Regions from separate parts of the Homo sapiens genome. Here all the other regions are linked to region 3. Evidence: promoter capture Hi-C in 16 types of primary human blood cells and fetal thymus (Javierre and others, 2016). All regions are on one chromosome and are shown on one strand. The core of a region is centred on a gene start or on the middle of the fragment in contact, and the rest is flanking DNA. Distances in the headings are between cores, read along the strand shown.

Region 1 (4,191 bases), core at 522-3,021, 280 kb before region 3:
TTTAAATGAAATAATGAATATGTAAAAAATTGTTTTAATTTTGAAAGTATTAACAGATGTAGCACACATACACAAAACCTCTTTGGCATGCTCCATAATTTTCAGGAGTGTAAAGGGATTCCGAGACGAAAAAGTTTGAGAACCTCTGATCTGCGGTATCACTTTTTAATGGCTGAATTAGTGCATTGATCGGAAGTTTCCTAATTCACTTAACTAGTATATAATGCCAAGAATAAGATTCTTATACTTAAATTTGGGTATACCCTTAATTATTTCTCTAGGATAATTTTCAAGGATGATTTTTAAAACCCATATTTATTGTACAAAAGTGGGCTAACATCAGTAATGCAATCCACCCCCAGCCAATCAGCTGTTTTCATTCTGTTTCCTTCCAATCAACAAAGGTGGGTGGTAGGCATTTACGATTTACCAGCATAAGGGTTTGACACTAGGTCATCATTTCCAAGGGAAGGTGCCCCGCGGACGGTCTGGTCTAGCGGGCTCTAACTTAATCACCCTGGAATCTTCTTTAAAAAGCAAATTCCGGCCGGGCACTATGGTTCACACCTGTCATCCCAACGATTTAGGAGACCGCGGTGGGAGGATCGCTTGAGCCCCGAAATTTGAAACCAGCTTGGGCAACATAGCAAGACCTCCATATCTACAAAAAAATAAAATATTAGCCAGGCGTGGTGGTGCGCGCCCGTAGCCCCAGCTACTCGGGAGGCTGAGGCGGGAGGATTGCTTGAGCCTAGGAGGTGGAGGCTGCAGCGAGCCTGATGTTGTCACTGCCCTCCAGCCTGGTGAGAGTGAGACCTTGTCTCAAAAGAAAAAAAAAAAAAAGCAACCCAGAGTTGTGGGAAAGAACTGAGTGTCATTCTCAATGTTTTTAACCTACGTGCTAACCGCGCACCTTCTACCTAGGCTGCGCGACCTCCGCGCCCGGATCCATGGCGCCCCCTCTTCTCGACTCCCGATGCAGAGCTCCGATGCAGAGCTCAGCGCCAGCCACTCACAAGGAGCCTGGCAAGTTTTATCGAATTGGTGAACGAAGTTCGAAAGCTCTACCCTTGGAGATCCTTATTCAGTAGGTCTGAGGTAGACCTAGGAAACGCGCATTTTATATAAATCCTACCTCTGACGGCAAACGACAAGGGGTTCACGTGCCAGCTCTCCTCGGCGACGCGCTAGGCTACTCAGCGCCCCGAGCCTCGGCCTCGCATCGCTAGAACCCGGCCATGGCCGCTTCCTTACAGGGCAGCTGTGAGGAGTCCTGAGGAATTTTAGTACACGGCATATCCTCAGCGTAGTGGCTAGCACATCACAAGGCTTTAATCTTAACACTGTTGATCTTAACACTGCAACTGAGGGGGCCCGGAGAATGGGCCTGACAGGAGGGTCTGTCGGAACCTGAGGGACTGGGGATCCCGGTGCGGAGAAGCGCGAAGGGAAATCGCGTTGAGCAGCTGGGGTGGGTGCGCCTGGGGGCGTGGCCTGCGGGCCGGCGGGCGGGCGGGAGCCTGCGGTGGAGGCGTGGCACGAGGGAGGGGCGAAACCGGGTGGCGCGGAGGGGGCGTGGCGTTGGGAGGGGCGGGGGGAGTGGGCGGGGCCGAGATGGGGGCGTGCGCGCTGACAGGAGCGCCGGGGGAGTGAGAGACGCCTCCTGGCGGGAGCTGGCGGCTGTGGACCCCAGCGGGGGCGGAGGGGAAGAGGGGAGCAGGGGCGGGGAGCAAGGAGCCGGGAGGAGGGCGGCGGGCGGGCCTGTCTCTTTAAGGTGCCCGAGGCTCGCGGGCGCTGCGCTGAGGGGACGGCGGGAGGCGCGGCCTGGCCTCGCACTCAAAGCCGCCGCAGCGCGCCCCGGGCTCGGCCGACCCGGCGGGGATCTAGGGGTGGGCGACTTCGCGGGACCGTGGCGCATGGTGAGTGGGAGCGGCTGGGGGGTTGTGCAGCCTCTTGGCCTCTTGGTTGGGAAGGGGCCGGGCGCCGAGCTCGGCCCTCTAGAGGCCCGGGGCCGCGGCGAGCTTCGCGGGGGCCGGGAGAAGCCTGGGCCCGGCTGCGCGGAGGACAAAGTGGGGGTGCTGGGCGCGGGCGCACAGGCCGGACGCCGGGAGCCAGCAGCATCTCTGCGCCGCTTTGGTCCAGACCATCTCTGGGCCGGCCCGCGTCCTCCGCAGCCCGCGTCGGCCGAGCCGGGGTGGGGGTGGTTCCGGGTGCCCGGTCCCCCACACCGCTACCGGCCTCTGCCTCGCGGGGCGTCCGGCGCCTTCGGGGCCCTGGCACCGCTCTACAGAGGCTCGGCTCTGCCCTGGTCGCTGTCAGTGCCATCTCCCTTAACGAGAAACTTGGGCGTGATGTATGCGAAACAATTTTGATGCATGATGGTTTCTAACTCCTTAGGAAAAGATAAGTCCTTTAATTCTATTACCTGATTTCGACATGGTCGTAGTTACTTGAATACTTTTTCCAGTGAAATTTGGGGAGTAAGATGAATTTGTGGAACATTTCATAAGACAACCGTAAAAGATGGGAAAGGGGGGAAATCCCAGTTTTCATGGTTGTAGGATGAAAACTAGTTCCACGACAGTTAGTCTCCAAATAACCTTATTTGGCCTCCGCAAATATGTACTGGTTGCTCCAGAAATCATCCTACTTGGTATGCGGCGTTAGATACATTAGAAAATTAGTTACTAACGGTCTTTAGGGAATGCTTTGTGAGCCTCAGTAACGATCACCAGGGTTTTCTCTTTCAAAATTGACTCATACCAGGTCCAAAGCCCTTTATTCTTTTCACCCTTTTATTATTTTTCCTTTAATGTACTTTGTAACACTTAGAATAAAAGTTTAGAGTAATCATAAATGCCCCCATAAACTCACTATTTATCCCTCTTACGTCAGTAGTCATTTATTTTAATTTATTATGTTTGATAGGGAGGTGTTTTAACCTGAAGAAATGATATCTTCCCGTATTTAAAGTTTAATAACTGTATACTGTTTGGCCCCTGTCAGACTGTGTTTGTGCTAGTCTTTTTTCCTTCTTCTTTTTGAACTGTAGTATCTTCTTAATAACTTTGAAGAATGTGTGGTACTAATAGAATTAAAAGAATATCTTGGCCGGGCGCGGTAGCTCACCCCTGTAATCCCACACTTTGGGAGGCCGAGGCGGGTGGATCACCTGAGGTCAGGAGATCGAGACCAGCCTGGCCAATATGGTGAAACCCCGTCTCTACTAAAAATACAAAAATTAGCGGGGCGTGGTGATAGGCTCCTGTGATCCCAGCTACTCGGGAGGCTGAGACAGGAGAATCGCATGAACCCGGGAGGCGGAGGTTGCAGTGAGCCGAGATTGCGCCACTGCACTCCAGCCTGGGCGACAGAGCGAGACAACGTCTAAAAGAAAAAAAAAAAAAAGAATATCGTCACATTCTAATAATTACCTAGAGTTTTTAATGCAATTAGTAATTAAACAGCCTTTTGTTATTTGCTCAATTATTTAAGAAGTGACTCTGTGGACTCTACTTCTTGCTTTGAGCTGCTTTATTCTGTCTAAATAAGCCTGAATAATTTCCATTTAAAATTTTGTTTTGATTCTAAGAATTAAAATTAAATATCTTAAAATTATAATACAATATTAATAGTTTTATATGGGCTTACAGTTGAATAATGGACCTAAAATTAAAGTTGAATAGTAGCAGTGCAGTATTGAAGCTAGTTATTTGCCTGATATACTCTCAAGTTACTGAGGGTTTAGATATACTCACTCTACTTTCACAGTCACCATTTCTGGATAGTCTGAGGAACTGTAGAGTTCTAGGTCCTTGAAGATGGCTATGAAGCCATTATTATACAAAATTATTGTTTATTTTTGAATGTTTATATAATCTTTCATTGAGAATGATCTTTAAATGATCACTCAAAAGTTTTTTGAAGGCCAGGCATGGTGGTATTGTCTGTAGTCCCAGATAACTGGGAGGCTGAGGTGGGAGGATCACTTGAACCCAGGAATTGAAGGCTGCAGTGAGCTATGATCACACCACTGTACTTCAGCCTGGGCAACAGAGCAAGACTCTAAAAAAGAAAGAAAAAGTATATTGACACAAACAATGAGTCTTAGTTTATGTTTTGTTTCTCATTTTTATATTTGTTTTTACCCTAGCACTTGCCTTTGAATTAAAGTTGTGTTTGTTTGTTTAG
Region 2 (4,170 bases), core at 1,030-3,529, 260 kb after region 3:
GAGTCAAAAAAGAGAAACTCACAAGATATGGGCACTTTGATCCTATCGTGCAAGTTTTCATTGAGTGTCTGGGTTATTCCACACTGCGCTGTAAAGACTGCAGATACCAAGGCATATCTTACCCTCAAGAAGCCTATATTTGGACTGGGAAAGAGAGATTTGTACCATATAACATCATTTCATGAAATGCATGGTGCTGACGGGACTGTGTTAATCTGTGACATTTTACCCTTTTTTTGGTTTAAACATTTGTTTTTCAATATTATGATTTTAAACTTTGGATGTATTGGAAACATGGGAATAGTGTCTTTCACCTCTCTCCAATTTCCTTTATTTCTTAAAATTAACGCATAATAATTGCACAGATTTATGGGGTACATAGTGATGTTTTGATACATACAATATATAGTGATTCTCCTTTTTCTTTACTCAGAGGCTAAGGTGGAGATGGTGGTCTGCCAGATGTTCATAAAGATCATTTCAGCAAAAATATTTTTTAAATTAAGTGTTTTAGTATAAACCTTCTTCAACTGTTTTCCATTATACAAGCTGTAATCCATCCATGCCTTTATTCATTCATGCATTAAGGGCCCACTGAATGCCACATTTGCTTACGGTGAGAATGAGCTTGGACCCTTCCCAGGAAGGAAGGTATTGACCATCTGTCTGAACATCTAAACATTGTCTGAACGTCGAAGCTACAATACACTAAAAGATGATTACTGGGGGCCTGCTGCTTTGCTTCTTTCTACCTGCTCCACCCCACTGTGGCTCCATTCGTTCTGAAGGCAGATGTAGCCTATAGTAGTCTGCTCACTTGTCTGGCTTCTTTAGAAGGTGGGCGTTGGTAGATTCAAAGAACAGCAAGCAGACAGCAACGTCTTTACACCATGAACTATGGTGCATTTGATAAATATTTTTAGTGGCATATTTGTATTAAAACATCAACAAACTTACACCTACCCTGAATCTTACCGAAGCAGCTCCACATGGAATTTTTCAGTAAATACTTACACCAAAGAGCTTTAAACATTACACTAGAAAGTCAGAAGTGGTCAGAGTAGGACCACTGCTCACAGCTCTATCTTGGCAGGGTACCCATGGATCCTCAGTTAGATTTTCAGACTCTTTAGAGTGGAATCTAGAAGAGAAATCTTTCTTCTGCTAATACTGCTCACCTCTTGTAATAGACATTGCAGGTACCCTCTCCAAGCACAATTTCTTAGCACTGGCCTCTATTCTCAGATGACTGCTCACTGCAAACACCTGTGATGCTTTCAGGGTGGTTGTGGGGACATGCAGGGCCTGTGCCTAGGGCAAGCAGAGGTGCCAGGCTTACTGCCCCTAGACAAAATGTTCCAATGAAGTCTAGAGAGTTGGCATTACTCCCTCCCAGCTTGCCTTTGGTGTGAGCTTCAGTTGTACACAGTGGCAACTGACTTGATCACCTTCCAACTCCCCCTCCAGTGTCTCCTGGGATTATCTCCCAAATAAACTACTTGCACTCAAATTTTTGTCTTAGGATCTGCTTTTCAGAGTTTAACTAAAGTTTATAATTTTTTATTCAGTGATGAAATAAACAATAAACAAAACAACATGGGAATGCCATAAATGCGTATTGCTAAGAGAAAGAAGTCAGTCTGAGAAGGTTGCATACTATATTATTCCATTTTGTGACATTCTGGAAAGACAAAACTATAGAGACAATGAGCAAATCAGTGGTTGCTGTGGGTTTGCAGAAGGATGAGGGCTGACTAGGTGAAGCACATATTTTTTTAGGGCTATGAAACTATTCTGTATGGTACTGTAGTGGTGGTTAATAATACCATCTATTGGCTGGGAGCAGTGGCTCATGCCTGTAATCCCAGCACTTTGGGAGGCCAAGGTGGGCGGATCACGAGGTCAGGAGTTTGAGACCAACCTGGCCAACATGGTGAAACCCCATCTCTACTAAAAATACAAAAAATTAGCTGGGCGTGGTGGCAGATGCCTGTAATCCCAGCTGCTCAAGAGGCTGAGGCAGGAGAATCACTTGAACCCAGGAGGCGGAGGTTAGAGTGAGCCAAGATAGTGACATTGTACTCCAGCCTGGGCAACAGGAGTGAAATTCCGTCAAAAAAAAAAAAAACCCACAAAAAACAAAAAACAAACAAACAAAAAAAAACCCATCCATTTGTCAAAACCCAAAGGACTCCACAGCACAAAATAATATATGCAAATTTGAAAAAAACGACCGACAGAACAGGGTTCTAGGATGAAATGAAGATTGTGACAAAAGAATATACAGTCATAGCCTGGGTAGCATAGCGATACCCTGTCTCTACAAAAAAAATACAACAATTAGCCAGGCATTGTGGTGCACAACTGTAGTCCCAGCTACTTGGGGGACTGAGGTGGCAGGATTGCTTGAGCTTGGGAGGTTGAGGCTACAGTGAGCCTGTGTTCACACCACTGCACTCCAGACTGGGCAACAAAGTGAGACCCTGTCTCAAAAAAAGAAAACAAAAAAGAATATACAGTCATGCATCACTTAATGACAGGGATACATTCTGAAAAATGTGTCATTAGGTGGTTTCATCATAGTGTGAACATCATAGAGTGAAATTAAACAAACGTAGATAGTACAGCCTATTGCTCCTAGGCTATAAACCCCTAGAGCATGTTACCATACTGAATACTGTAGGCAATTATAACTTGATGGTATTTGTGTGCCTAATCCATACCTAAACATAGAAAAGATGCAGTAAAAATATGCTATAAAAGATTGAAATGGCCGGGCGTGGTGGCTCACGCCTGTAATCCCAGCACTTTGGGAGGCAGAGGCTGGCAGATCACCTGAGGTCAGGAGTTCAAGACCAGCCTGGCCAACATGGTAAAACTCCGTCTCTACTAAAAATACAAAAATAGCTGGGTGTGACGGTGGGTGCCTGTAATCCCAGCTACTTGGGAGGCTGAGGCAGAAGAATCACTTGAACCTGGGAGGTGAAGGTTGCAGTGAGCCGAGATCGTGCCGTTGCACTCCAGCCTGGATGCCAAGAGCGAAACTCCATCTCAAAAACAAAAAAAGTTAAAATGGTACATCTTCATAGGGCACTTTCTGTACATAGGAAGTTGCTCTGGGTGAGTCAGTGAGTGAGCGGTGAATGTAAAAGCCTGAGACATGCCTGTACATTATTGTGTACTTTATAAACACTGTACCTTTAGTCTACACTAAATTTATTTTAAAAATAATTTTGCCATGACATTAGGGCAGCCATGATGCCACTAGCTAATAGGAATTTTTCAGTTCTGTTATAATCTTATGGGACCACTGTTGTATGTGCAGTCCATCACTGACCAAATGCCATTATGTGGTGCATGACTTTAACTATATTACAAATGTGTGATATAACTTCACTGAAGGTGTCAGGAGAAAGAAATGCTGATGTTAAGTAACTTTGGAAATGCGGGAAACTATAAAACTAAAGATAAAAGGAACTATATGTACAAGCACTGTGCTCCAGTTGATAAAGTTGCTAACCGTGGAGGTACAGGTTAACTATCCTGAAACCATTCTACATGCATATTGGGATTGGGCAAATAGGTAAATGGTTGGTGGATGATGGGAACCAAGTCACTTTTGGAGTAGAAGGTTACAGACAAGCAAGAGAGAAAGGCTGAAAGGAGCCACGTGGTACTGAATTAGACTTGAGGACATCGGTATGAACTCATGTTTGGCTTAATATAGATACTGATAGGCAGATATAGAAGTAATTATAATTTGTGTATATGCAAGGGTTACTATATATACATATATATACACATACATATATGTATATACTTCCTAATCATGTTCACGGGGAGGGTCTAGAGACAATGATACCCAGCATCAATGAACACACCTAGCCTAGGTCTTGGTTTCTAAATACTATTCTCCAGTTTTAAAAAACCTAGAAATGGATGATTCTATGGCTCGGGCAGTGAATATACAGGATGAACCAGGAGTATCCTGCAGAGCCAGAAAGTAAGGAAGTGCTTACAAAGCAAATCAGCAGGTATATATCAAATAGGACATAGAAGCCATCGGAAAGAGCTCTCAATGACCAAAGCTGACAATTTGAGCCGAAAATAAAAACATAGTATTGGATTATAACCCAAAGTACAAAATAAACATCCATAATCGGCCGGGCA
Region 3 (4,324 bases), core at 1,825-4,324:
TTTCTCCCTTCACAAGAGATGGGAAGTGGTCCTTCAACTGGCCATATGTCCAAAAGTCCTTTGTTCCTGAATATTCTGGGTAAAGGTATCACCTGTAAAAACTTTAGTAACTGAGAAAAATAAGCAATTACTCTAACAAAGCCTTCAACCAAATTATGAATATGCAAATAACTATTGTGCCTTCAATGTCTGTTTTATCCTAAATTAAAATGCACAGGAAACAGAATCTTTAAAAAGTTAGTTGCAGCCGGGCGCAGTGGCTCACGCCTGTAATCCCAGCACTTTGGGAGGCCAAGGCAGGTGGATCACCTGAGGTCGGGAGTTCGAGACCAGCCTGATCAACATGGAGAAACCCCGTCTCTACTAAAAGTACAAAATTAGCCAGGCGTGGTGGCACACGCCTGTAATCCCAGTTACTTGGGAGGCTGAGGCAGGAGAATCACTTGAACCCGGGAGGCAGAGGTTGCGGTGAGCCGAGATCGCGCCATTTTGCACTCCAGCCTGGGCAACAAGAGTGAAACTCCATCTCAAAAAAAAAAAAAATTTAGTTGCGAGCATTGGCAGCATCTTTAAGTACCTTCATTCTGTAAGGTTCAACATCAGTGTTTCCTTCTCTGCTCTTCTTTTAAGCTTCCCTTGCTCTTTTCTCATAACAGCAAACATAATCATAATCATCGCTGTTTACCAGGAATTGTTCCAAGTGCTTCAGAGGCACTAACTCATGTACAGCCTTGAACAACTCTATGAAGTAGGTAATATTTCTTATGCCTACTTACAAATGACAAAACTGAGGCATAGGGAGGTTAAGTGAGTTGCCCAAGTCTGCCCAAAAAGACACTGCTAAGACAAACAGAGCAGCCTGGCTCCAGTGGTAACTGTAATACTGTACTGTACACCTAGATTCAAAACTGCTTGTAAACCACTAGAGGGCATGGGTTGTGCCCATCTTTCTCAAAGCTCCATCCCCAGTACCTGGCAGAGTGTTGAAACTCATGGTTGAATTTTTCACAGGTATGCCTTCCCCTCTACACTGTGCTTCTTGGGGGCTAAGGAAGAAACTGAGACTGCATTTCATCCTTCAGGAGTGAGAAGTTTTTGCTCCAGTCATAAATACTTGCTGAATAAATGAATCTTCTATTTACGAAGTCGAACATAAATATAAAAAGCCCTCCTCGAGGTAACATAATCAGGGCCATTTCTCCAATCCTAACCTGGCAAGAGATCTGAAATCAACAGATGCCTTAAATAATATCTCAAACTTACTATTAGGCAGATAAGTGGCTTAAGGTAAACATTAAATAAAATGTTAAAGCTGCCCTTCACTACATGAGTACTGCTCCCTTTAAGAGAGCTGTTTTGAGCCACCTCACTAAAAACACAGACTTAGCAAAAGTTTGGATGTGGTTCATTTACTTTAAAGATAAATTACTCGTTTCAGATAATCCATCTAAATAGTAAATCCCCCTTACTTTACTCAAAACAACCAGGAATCTAAAAATTAAGTTTACTCTGAGTAAGGGAACCACATTAGACAATGCTAAGGATTAACTACAGAGTATTTAAAAGAGTAATTTCAAACTGCAGCCATCTCTGAAATTACTTATACAGGTACTAGACAGTCAATCTCAGCATCCGGTAGGCTTTCCACTAAACAGACCACAATCCTACTATGGTTATCATCTCAACTCAGAACAATTTCTTGGTCCCTTATGTATCCCATGATCTTCGCTTATATATTTTGCACACTCTGCATTTTTAAAATGCATCTCAAAACCTATTGATTTTTTGATGGGTCGCTATTTTGGAAGATTAGCAAGAATAGAAACTATTTTAAGTTAACTGCAATTTGTCACTTCTTTCAATACAAACCTGCTTAACTCTTTTGTCTTTTCTATCGTGACCCAAATTATTTTCTGAGGCTTAGAAAAGTACATATAAGACGAAAAATTCCTTTCTAAATATCAATTCCGTCGCCATCAGGAAATGTCAGAAACTTTGTCTTTTTAAAAATAAAAGCGTCAACTCTTTAAAAACTTCAGTACCTCAAAGGAAAGCTGCACTGTTAACACTGAAGGAGGGCTGGGTGATTTCTGAACATCCGCATTAAAGAAATATGCTCTCCAAACCTAGTAATTCCTGCGGAGGCCACACCTTCTAACCTTCTCGTAATCCACTAATCAAATCGGGAGCATCTGAAAACTGCTACCAGCCAAAGTAAAATGACAGGTATGTCATCCTCAAACAATCCAAAACCGGGTCGGGGAGCCCAGACGGCTAGCCGGGGCCCAGGCTGACCCCCGGGCGCTCCTGGAAGAGCGACTCTAAGGAAACACACCTCCCGCGCGAGCCTCTTCCTTCCTAGAGTGACGGGGGAAGGGGACACCAGGGGCAGAAACACACCCAAACCCCACTTCAAATCCTGCCCCACCGCTTCTCCTTCCAAAACAGCCGCGCCACTGCTGAGCCCGCAGGCGATTCGGGGGCGCCGGGAGAAGAGAGCGAAGGGCGGAAAGCGAACTTGGGCGTTACTCCGGGCGTCTCCCTCCCCCAGCGGAACCTGGGCGCGCCGTTTCCTCACGGACGCGAGATTTTCCCCCCCGATCGCCACCCCAGCCCGCCTGGGGCCGCCCTCGCCCACCGTCCCCTCAGCCAGCCAGGGCCCGGCCCAGGCCTCGCCGCCGCCCGCCCTCCCCGGCCGCTCCCCGCGGACTGCCAGGCCACCGCGAGGCCGGGCCACTCACATCCGTCTGCGTCCTCCTGCAGGTCCTCCTGAAGCAGCGAGAGGTCTGCGCCGAGGGGAGAGAAGAAAGGCCCGGTCAGCGCCCCGGGGCCCGGCGCGACGCCCCCCCCCCGCCCGCCTCCCCCCCGCCCCGGGGGCGCCTTCCCGCGCCGGGACCCCACGCCGGCCCCGGCCCGGCAGCCACTCAGGGCTGCGGCGGAGGGCGGGTGGGCTCGAGGAGCCGCCGCCGCCCGGAGAACAGGGGGCCACGTACCCGCCATCTTGTGGTCGCCCCCTCCTCCGCGGCCGCCCGGGGAGCCGGGGCTACATGGAGCGGCGCGAGCCGGGGAGCCGGTGGACGCGCGCGGGAGGGGCGGCGGGGAGGAGGAGGGCCGGGCTGGCGGGGGCGCGCGCGCGGGGCGGGCCGAGGGCCCGGGCCTGCCGCGGGCGGCGCGGCTCCCGGCCGCCCGGGCCCCCGGCCGCGCCCCGCCCCGCCCCGCCTGCCCCTCCGCGCGGCTCCCGGGCGACCGGCGCTCCCGCCTCCCGCCTTTCCCGCTGCTTGCCGGGTCCCGGCCCGGCGACGCGCGCTCACACCCTCCTCCCGAGCCGCCCTCACGCCGAGCGCTGCGGACGGGGGCGCGCAACCTGCCGCCGGCCGGGACCCTGCGGCGAGTGCCGGAACCCGGCCGGGCGGGGCCTCCCGCGGCCCGGCCGCTTTATTGGGTCACCGGCCTCGCCCACCGCCCTGCCAGCCGCAGCCATCTCGGCGGGCGCGCCGCTCGCAGCCAGCGCCCCATCCCCAGGCCTGCACGTACGTCGTCGGCGATCCGGGGCCGGGGGCGGCTCCGAGGTCGTCGGGGCCGGGGTCCCACCTCCTCTTGGAGGAAGCGCCGCCTCCCCACCCGCCCGGGGCCCTCGCCAAGTGGCTGCTAACAAAGCCCAGGGCCCGGCTGCGGGATGGTTGACTGACAAAGTCATGCCTGCCTAGCCAGCTTCCTCGTGCAGCACGGTGAAGGCTGGGGCGCCGGGTTTTTACTCCCACGTCCTGCCAACTCGAGCTGACAAGGCGGGCAATCCACCAGCGGGAGCGTTGGCAGGCCCGGGGTCAGATCCTGATTCAGCCAGTTAATTGGTAGGAGTGGGGCCCATTTGTAGAATGAAGGTGATAACTGCCTCGTGGGGTTATTGGCATTAAATGAAGAATGTAGGGAACCTAGCATGGTTCTTGATGTCTAGGAGGTGCTCGGTGAAGGGTGCCTATGATTCGCTTTGTCTTCTAAATACTTTTGGCAGCACTTGAGGTGTTAAAGTCTGTATCCCAGACTTTATTAGTCTTGTTGTTTTACGTGACTTAAGCGATTAGCTCAAACGCCCAAGTACAAAATGGGGCTAAACCCAGGTTTTCCGACACGATTCTACCTCCATGGCTCTATCTCCAGCTCCACCCAAGGCCTCCAAAATGGTGTTCTCCTAAAGTGACCAACAAAACACCAAGCTGTGTCATGGTGCCACTTTGGCGATGTGGTCTCTTAGGAGAGGGAATTCTAAGTAGTTAATTAGCTTGTTCCTTTCTACGTTGTAGTCTTGACCAAGGACAATGTGTTG

What was found. The method cuts DNA at HindIII sites, captures the fragments that hold promoters and counts their contacts. A CHiCAGO score of 5 or more calls a contact.
Region 1: a contact is called between the fragment with the promoter of TWSG1 here and the fragment with the promoter of PPP4R1 in region 3, in 11 of 17 cell types (naive CD8 T cells, neutrophils, fetal thymus and 8 more). The highest score is 16.6, in naive CD8 T cells.
Region 2: a fragment that was not itself captured here is called in contact with the fragment with the promoter of PPP4R1 in region 3 in 1 of 17 cell types (neutrophils); the score reaches 7.0 in neutrophils.

The regions. Positions count from the first base shown.
Region 1 is chr18:9,333,002-9,337,192 of GRCh38, forward strand. TWSG1 (twisted gastrulation BMP signaling modulator 1) reads left to right here and starts at 1,772. Exons shown (of 5, transcript NM_020648.6): 1 at 1,772-1,919. It overlaps TWSG1-DT (TWSG1 divergent transcript), which reads right to left and starts at 1,468. Exons shown (of 3, transcript NR_183523.1): 1 at 1,136-1,468. RefSeq lists a silencer at 1,473-2,262 and enhancers at 2,060-2,560, 2,323-2,372. The HindIII fragment of the contact is 11,774 bases long and covers 1-4,191 here.
Region 2 is chr18:9,871,684-9,875,853 of GRCh38, forward strand. No RefSeq gene overlaps it. Among named protein-coding and RNA genes, the nearest start is that of TXNDC2, 12 kb to the right of the region's middle. The HindIII fragment of the contact is 7,302 bases long and covers 1-4,170 here.
Region 3 is chr18:9,611,485-9,615,808 of GRCh38, forward strand. PPP4R1 (protein phosphatase 4 regulatory subunit 1) reads right to left here and starts at 3,075. Exons shown (of 20, transcript NM_001042388.3): 1 at 2,994-3,075; 2 at 2,742-2,786. The coding sequence starts at 3,000. PPP4R1-AS1 (PPP4R1 antisense RNA 1) reads left to right here and starts at 3,323. Exons shown (of 3, transcript NR_110773.1): 1 at 3,323-3,530. RefSeq lists an enhancer at 2,192-2,271 and silencers at 2,542-2,791, 2,892-3,161, 3,262-3,771. The HindIII fragment of the contact is 7,461 bases long and covers 629-4,324 here.